Linked DNA regions of Homo sapiens: region 2 is linked to region 1. Evidence: promoter capture Hi-C in 16 types of primary human blood cells and fetal thymus (Javierre and others, 2016). All regions are on one chromosome and are shown on one strand. Each heading gives the region's core, a stretch centred on a gene start or on the middle of the fragment in contact. The rest is flanking DNA. Distances are from core to core; before and after follow the strand shown.

Region 1 (4,577 bases), core at 1,074-3,573:
TTAAGTAGAGTAAGTGTTTAGTAAATATCTTAATTGAAAACATTAATTTGGCAAGGTAATGAATTATAGCCTATATAAAAAACAATCACACAGTTATGAAAATGTGTTAAAATTAGGGTTTCTGACCATTTTTAAGTAAATTATGTTCTTGATTTAAGAATTTTATATTTAACAATGGTTTCCAAGATGTACACAAAAATTACAGTAGAAGCTAAGAAAATGTCTGTGCCCTCCCCCCATCACATAGAACTAGGTAATTAGTACTTTCAGTAAATAAATTCCCTTCAATTAGCCAGAATTATATTGAATTGTGCTATATAGTAAATAATATATTCACATGAGGTTTTATAGTATTACTGCTAAAAGTATGGGTCCTACCAACAGGTGACTGGAATGAAGGGATGAGCTGATTCAGGCAAGGATCAATAAAAAACACTTGCGCAGATTCGAAGTTACTATCGAGTGAGAATCAGTTTGCACAAGTCTTTCATCTCAGCTCTGCATGAAGCACTCCTTGGAACCTCCTTACCAACTGTGGCTTTAAGAATAGACTACATTCATTCACTCTTATTTAAACACATACATTATATCCCTGTGTACATGTCAATCATTTCAGTTTCGGTGCAAAAGGCTGGATATTCACACCAGATAAGTCAAAGTTAAAACATATTAAATGAAATGGTATTTCAAAGCTTGCATGCTCTACCTTTAAAAACCAGTGAGCCAAAGATGTTCCTATTATTTATAATTATTGATTTCTGAAAGTTTGTGTTAATACATTTCAAAGATTAACATTGAAAAGCCTAACAGAAAGGAATAACGATTCAACTTTTTGGCAATGTAAATCTATTGCTAGGGCTCGATATCATGAATAAATCTTAACTAATTTCTTTGACATCTTGACATTTCTTATTTCTCCAAAAATTACATTTTCATAGAAAATATATTTATACTTCAAATAGACTTATGATGGTATTTAATTGCACTTAAAAACTCATGCTCAAAATTTCAGTACCAGAAACTAGCATCCATCATCTCGACAGCAAAACACAAAACGTAAGAAAAACTAATCATTCCTTTAAGTGAAATAAGGCAATTTTTACCTAAAAAGACCTTGAGGTTAGTGAGGGAAAAAAAGATGCTTGAAATGTAAGAAAAGATCCTGAAGTATTTCTTTTCATCTTTATTCTCTCTGTTGCTTTTTCTTTTGATTTGAAAGATCAGATGAGACCACATATAAATATGTCTGGGAGGTGTCTTAGAGAACTTAACTCACTTCTTAAAAAGAGAAAAGAACTAAATACATTATGTGATAAATAAAGTATTTTTTATTGTACATTCTGTTTGAATCCTTGTTCTCTCAAAGGCTAGAATGAAAGAAAGAACAAGGAAAACCCCGTGTTTTATGATTTGTGACGATAATAGTCACCACAAGGTAGTTTTTTTCAGTGTTGTTAGGACACAGTTAACGACAACATATAAGAGAATCTGCATCGTTCAGTCACAAAATCTTCTCTTCAAATCAGAACTACAAACTGTATTCTAGATAGATATTTCCCTGTTAGTAAAATATAAACTCAGACATGGAAATTCTACATCTTTTTGGAGAAGTCTTAATGATTACACTAGGATCAACAGAATCCTACAACCAAAAGTCAATTTTTATACTTTTAACTTGTACTAACTATGCTGTTGAGAAAGCTGCTTTCAGGATGTAAGAACTAAATTATAATTAGTGTTTTCTAATAGGTGTGCAATACAGAGCTGGAAGCAAGAATAAAATTATTCACTTCAAGAAAAAGGAATATGATTATGCGGGAAGTATGTGAAGTGAAAATATTGTATGAATGTTTTACAGTAATTATTTAACACAATGCCATATATTTAAATTATCTTTTCATATGTCATTTGAAAACATTTAGGTACATTTGAATAGAAGTGGGTGTTCTTTGTGTATCTGTCAATAAGTAGTTTTTTACATTTGTTTATTGCATGAAAATATAATTGTAAAGGGTTTCATAGCCTATTCAGTGTAAGCCTATATCCTTCATATTTGAGAACTTCGATGTTTGGATTTAAACAGAGCAAATTGTACATGCTTTGGAGGAAAAAAATTTTTAAGTGATTAAAAAATATTTCTTATCAGATAATACCAAAGTCCTATTATACCTTCTTTTACACACCATAATGAATTAGTGATCAAGAACACAACTGTAGATTTAAACTAAAAGAAACAAAAAAGAAAGAACAAAAAAGACAGGCTGCATAGTGACAAGAATCCATCTCCCTTCATGCCAGTGAGGTTCTAGCTGTGAGCATGCTCAGAACATGGGAGGCACTGAACTTACTACATCAGAACTCCTGCTGAGGTATAAGAGGATACGTCTAATAACTCAATTGCTGTAAACCTATGATTGTTTTTCTGGTTTTTAAACATCTCTTCAGCCTCAGATTGATTACAATGTTCTTTCTACTTCATTTCATCGTTCTGATCAATGTCAAAGGTAAGGTTGCTACTTTCTCGTTTTAAATGAGTGCAATTCCCAAAAAATACATTTCTATGTAGTTCTATGGCAGTTGTAATAAATATATTGGGGTGTTTAAAAAAAAAACAGACATCAAATTTGCCTGGTATTTGTCATTATCTTTCATTGCTTGTAGTCCCACACAGCCTAGTAATTTTTAGATGCAACAAATTTTTCATGGAAACAAGCCTTTGTATGTTATTAAAGCTGTAGATAAAATATGTCAAAAAACAATGTTGACTATATCAATTAAAACATAGAAAACATTTTTGGCATTTGTTCTGAAAAGTGTGACAAATTAATAAACTAAAATTGTGTTTTGTGGAATTTCAACCTGTTGAAATATGCCCATAAAATTCAAGTAATTATTAGTAACTATCTTGCGTGAACATAATTAAACTGGGAACTCCAAAGCCACAGGCAGATCTAAAAAACAGTATCTGTCTCTAAGAGTAAACCTCTCTAAAATAAAGTTATTAAAAGTCTATACAAGTGCATTTACTTAGATAATTTTCTTTTGTTTTTAATTTGTGGAAATTTTTATTTCAGTCAAACTCTTAAGTTTCAAGTCAGTACCATTTTCATTGTAAAGCTCACCAAAAAATAAAACCTAAATCTTCACTTGTTTTTAAATAAAAAGATACGTTGTCAGCCTATACATTCATAAACAACCTATTAACCACACCCAAGATTTGCTGGGGTTTATTATTATTCAAAAATGTTTCTATTTTAATTTGTATTTTTTCTTAAAGAATTTTGATAAACCTCTGAGAATAAAGGTTAAAATTTGAAATTATTTTTATTTTCTGAGAAATTCGTTTTAGGTTTTTTAAATATTCAGTTTTATTAGGTGAATTCCAAGTGAATATTTTAAATCTTGAAATAAAATGCAATACTTATGAGGAATTATTTTAAAACTTCTAACAAACAAAAGATTTTTAAAAGGCTTAAAATATCTAAATTTTATTTTGAATTTAAAATAATACTAAAACTTTACTACAAATATTTAAAATCTATATCTCCATGCACCTAGCATGACTTTTATTTTATATTTTAATATCTCTTACATGAAAAGCTAAGGATTAACTAAGAAGAAACAATATATGAACTCACCTTGCATGCAGTACAGTTGCAACAAGCAGTCTATTTCTATATTTAAGGTCCTACTTCAGAAGTTCATGTTCTATCCACATTTGAATATTCAATTTTATACAATTTTAAGAATATACAGCTACAAAGCAGGTTCTTAAGACATGTCATAGAGCTCATCTGTGCCCTTAAAAAGTTCTTTAATGTACGGGACTATAACCACAGTTTAACCAATTTTACTATACTTTTGCTTTTATACATAATGCATTTAATTGATTTTGCTTAAACCGTTTATGAGATGAAAAACATCTATTACTAAAATAACATTTTGTGATTTACCATAATGTAAAGTCACCCTTTAAACTAAAAAAAAGTTCAATTAATAATTTTTGTTTGATTTTATTTCTAAGTAAAAGCCATATTTCAAACTCCTAGTACCAACCTAACAAATATTTATTGATTATAATCCTGGAAATTTTTATTTTCTAATTTTATATTACTTTTGACTACTAATTTAAACCTTTATGTTTAAAATGATTTCTTTTCAAAGCAAGACACATTAATCAATGCTTTGACATTTTATTCCTACTTATAAAAATAATAGAATTTGCTCTATAATTAGTAAAACTCTTTTCTTTTTCACAACAAAATTGTGGACAATTAAAACGGTAAGGCTTTTCATAGTAACCAAAGAAAGCTCATTTAGAGTTGCCTAAGAGTAAAGGTTGTCTTTTTAATTTAAATAATATTTGTGATAGACTCTTAGGCCAGATCTAAACAAAACATAAAATTAGAAATTATGTGATCGTCTTTTCTTCTCTGACCATCATCACTCTGGAGTGCCTAAGGAATGAGTGATTGCCTTAAGCTACAGGCACTAACAGACAACTATGCATAATGTATCTTATTATTATTACGTGTGTTTTATCATTAATTTATTCACTGTGTATCTCTGTTAACCAG
Region 2 (4,577 bases), core at 1,134-3,633, 220 kb before region 1:
TTTTTATAGAGATGGAGTTTCACCACATTGCTTAGGCTGGTCTCAAACTCCTGGACTCAAGTGATCTAACTGCCTCAGCCTCCCAAAGTGCTGGGATTACAGGTGTGAGCCACTGTGCCCAGCCTGTTTTGTGTCTTGTATCAGCTAAAACTTCTAGAACATGTTGAATAATAAGATTATAGTAGGCATCTTGATTTTACTCTCAATTTTACTGGAACTTTCTCTAGCATTTCTATTTTAAGTATGATGTTGTCTATGGCTTAAGATAGATGTTATTTGTATTATATGAGAATCTGTCAGAGATACTCAGCCTCCAAAATGTCTATAATGATTCTTACCTTCTGGTAGTCACACTTTTGTGTAGTCTCCTCTCATAGTGAATAAGGCTGACGTATGTAACAATATTATGGACATAAAGTTTGGTGACTTCTGGGGCTGGTTCATAAAAGACATTGCAGTCTCTGCCTGGAAATTTTCCCCTGATTACTCACTCAGGGGGAAAAGCCAGCTGCCATGTTGTGAAAACACTCAAGCAGCCCTATAATGGTGAGAAACTGAGGCCTCCCATCAAACAGCCAGCTCTAACTTGCTAGCTATATGAGTAAGTCAGCTTGGAAGCAGTTACTCTGGCCCCATTGTAGCCTTCAGATGACTGCTTCCCTGGTTGATATTTTGATTGCAAACTCATAAAAGACCTTGAGTCAGATTCATCCAGCGAAGCCACTCCTGAATTCCTAACTTACAAAATATCTGTGAGATAATAAACGCTTATTGTTTTAAACTGCTAATTTGGGGGTAATTTACTATGCAGCAATAGATAGCTAACACACTTCCAAAATTATATTTAAAATAAATCACTTAAGGCCAGGCGTGGTGGCTCTTGCCTGTAATCCTAGCACTTTGGGAGACCGAGGCAGGAGAATTACCTCACATCAGGAGTTCGAGACCAACTTGACTAACATGGCGAAACCCCACCTCTACTAAAACTACAAAATTCGGCCATGGTGACACATGCCTGTAATCCCAGCTACTTGGAAGGCTGAGGCAGGAGATTCGCTTGAACCCAACAGGCGAAAGTTGCAGTGAGCTGAGATGATATCACTGCATGCTAGCCTGGGCTACAGAGCAAGACTTCTTCTCAAAAAATAAATAAATAAATAAATAAATAAATAAATAAATAAATAAATAAATAGATAGATAAATAAAATAATAATAAAATAAATCATTTAAGTCAGCAATGGTAAAAATGATATTGAATGCCTTTTTGACATCTATGAGATGATTCTTTTTTTTCTTCTTTTTTGGTGTATCAAGGTGATGCTTTATTTCATTAGCTTTCTTAATATTAATGTATTTTAGTCTTCCTAAAATCTTCTTGATCATGGCAGATTATTATTTTAATATATTCTCTAATTTTATTTTTTAGTCATATGTTTAGAATTTTGTATATATAAATTAATAAATAAGCTTGGCCTATACTTTTCTTTTTTTTATAATAAAGATTGTCCTACTTTTGGAAAATTATCTGGTTTTTTTTCCTATACTTAGAATTTAAAGGGAATCATCTGTCCCTTGAAAGCTTAAAGACCATGAAATCCTCTGCGCCCAGGGCCTTTTGCTTGTACTTTCTTTGATGATTTTCTGAATCCCTTCGTATTTATTGGTCTATCCAGGTTTTCTACTTGAATCCATTTTTAAGGTTTATTATGTTACAGAAAATGTTAAGCAAACTACCACTGAGATTATTATCCTATATATTTGCTTTTCGTATTATTTTTCTCACAGTTTTCAAAAATCTGGCTGAAATAAGATATGAAAGTGAAGAAGCTAAACCCATCAGCAGAATTAAATAACCAATGGGAGAAATTGCCCTTTCTTGATGCATCCTCTGTGGTAGGAACCAGCTTTGGGGAATGACTTTAGCTATTTTACCCGAGTGGAGATGTAGCCAACATGTAGCCGAAAGACTCAGAAGGAATTGGATCAGTGGAATCTGAGGAAAGCTGGGAAGCTACATGAGGAAGGGAGCATACTCATACATCTTGCTTGCCACTCCCCCAAAGAAATATGCTTTGTTATAACAGTTGAATTAACTTATATGGAAACATTAGGCCACTGACAAGCTAATTGCATAATGGCTCCCACACTTACCAGACCAAAGTACCAAAGTTAAGGGGAAAATGGAACGTATTGAGGAAAATACAAAGGATTTTGGTTGCATGCCTTTACAGGAACCGGGCTGCTTGCCCTCGCTCTGGTCCTGTTAACATTCCACACATGGCTCAATCTCAGCTACAGTTTCCATCATGTTCATTACTCTCACGAACATCTCAGTTGACATGAAATAAAGGTTTCCTCTTGACCTATGAAGTTTAAAGCTAATTCACTTTCTGAGTGGCTTAAACTAACTGCACCCTGCAGCTTGCTCAGCACTTGGAGCTATATTTGGAAAAGTTTTTGACAGTCAGTACAATTTTCTTCTCTAACATCCTGAAATTTTTATCAAAAGAAAACATTCAATTTTTTAAACTTTAGTTTTTCCCCCTGCACTGTTGTAACTAATCAGTGCTCGGGGAGGTCTTTGGTCATCTGCTTTGGTTTCATGTGACCATGTGAAGTGAACTTATACATGGACTACACACTCCAGAAATCCTTTAACCCTCTAGTGTCTTCTCAGTTACTTTCTGCAACAACTCCTTCCCCCAACAAAACAGAAAGGTCCAGAGAGACCGTTGCCTTCTCCTTTGGCTCAGCTGACTGGCTGGCCACGGATGCTGGTGATTGATGCCTCTCTTCCCCAGCTCTGCTGCTGGCATTTCCAAATCTGGACTTCTTCTTCTTCTTCTTCTTCTTCTTCTTTTTTTTTTTTTTTTGTATGTCTTTGAAAGCCTTCTTGTTTCACTAAACTTGTCAGTCATATATCCTCCTATTTTCTGCTCACAGCTGCAGTGGAAATGTAACACCATCCTTCCTCTTTGCTAAGGGTTTTCCTAAGGCCATGGTGATAGGGCTCTCCTATGCTCATGAGGCCCAGCACCACCAAATAGTTGTTGTTTTACTGTTCCAGATTAATGAATGGTTAAAAAATCCAGGCAACGTAGGGGTCCTGTGGTCACCTCAATAAATGCTAAATCAATTCTTAAGCCCTTCGCCATCCCCTAAGAACTTGAAATGCTGACACTTGGGGTCAAGCTTTTGCCACACATTTTCTGAAGGATTTGGGGCCTGATGTTGCTTCACTGCCCCTTACCAATCAGCTTGATTAGTGCTTTTCTGAGGACCTATCCTTTATTAAAGATCCTGCCTCTGCAAACTATATTAAGTAGTTTCTCTCTGGAAATAACTTTTCTCTTGTTCCATGTTCAACCATCTGCTTAATTTATAGACTATTAAGAGTACACACACTTTACTCTGTAATAAAAAAAAAATCCTTGCAACTGAGGTTTGTAAATTGCTCTCCAGGTGACACTGGAGCAAGGCAGGGGAGGAATGTGGTCTATTCCCAAAGCAGATAGCAAGAACTTTGACCCAAGTCCTGCCCATACCATTTACCAGCCGTGTGTCTTTGGGAAATTGACGTCTTCTTTTTGACCCTGAGTTTTCATGACTGTTCAACTATAAAATGTGAGGGTGATAATAACACCTACGCCTTAGGGTTTTGTTTGTTTTGTTTTAAATATAAAATAACACAATATACTCAAAAATATTTTATAAAGTGTAAAACATCAGAGGGCATTAGAAAGTATTCTGCAACTTCTCCTTTTGCAGAGGACTATGGAAACGTACAGACCTTTATTTATTTACCATATTTAGAGACTCTACTCCTTGGAGAGAATTCTAGACATGCCTTATATCAGGGCTACCGGCTCCACTGATATAACAGATCAGCTTGGGTTTTAATCTCTTTATTTAATATGCACGTACACTATTGCCCATGGCTTGGAAAATTTAACCACAGAATCTCCATTTGTTTTCTGTTCATCATCTCTGGATTGGTTTTGTTTTCTCATCTCTTAAATTTTGTTTGCTGTTGTGTTTGTGTTTGTTATTGTTTGCTAGAAATTTTATTATTTTAAGAAGATTTTTTAAAAATCAGTTTCTGGTTCTATGTATTTCACTATTTTCAGTTTTCTAATTCTTTTCAACTTAAAATTTTAATTTCTCTTTTCCAGTTTTGTTTTTGTTTTTACTTTTTTTCTCCAGTTACTTGAGTTGACTCTTTAATTATTATCTCACCTCCTGCCAAAAGACATATGGTCTTTTCCGTGCTAACTAATAAATACTCTTAAAAACACAACTATACACAGTTCTTTTGTATTTGCTAATCATTGCTCTTTCTTGATAGAGACATAACATCACATATGTAATATCATCCCTGTTGCCTTATGAATCTTAAGAAATTTAGAGGGCTTTAAAAAGTGGGTTCCAAAATGATCTCTAGCAAGATCATTGCTTAAATATGCTCCCTGTGCAGTGCTTTTTTAGTTTAACAAAATAGGAAAATAAATGAATGTCATGATAAACTGCATTTCTCACCTTGTTCTTATTTTCTGCATCAAGTTTAATCTTCACTGCTG

Evidence for each region. The method cuts DNA at HindIII sites, captures the fragments that hold promoters and counts their contacts. A CHiCAGO score of 5 or more calls a contact.
Region 2: a contact is called between a fragment that was not itself captured here and the fragment with the promoter of RXFP2 in region 1, in 1 of 17 cell types (endothelial precursors). The highest score is 5.5, in endothelial precursors.

Annotation. Positions count from the first base shown.
Region 1 is chr13:31,737,203-31,741,779 of GRCh38, forward strand. RXFP2 (relaxin family peptide receptor 2) reads left to right here and starts at 2,324. Exons shown (of 18, transcript NM_130806.5): 1 at 2,324-2,504. The coding sequence starts at 2,411. The HindIII fragment of the contact is 9,597 bases long and covers 691-4,577 here.
Region 2 is chr13:31,516,610-31,521,186 of GRCh38, forward strand. No RefSeq gene overlaps it. Among named protein-coding and RNA genes, the nearest start is that of RXFP2, 220 kb to the right of the region's middle. The HindIII fragment of the contact is 1,613 bases long and covers 1,578-3,190 here.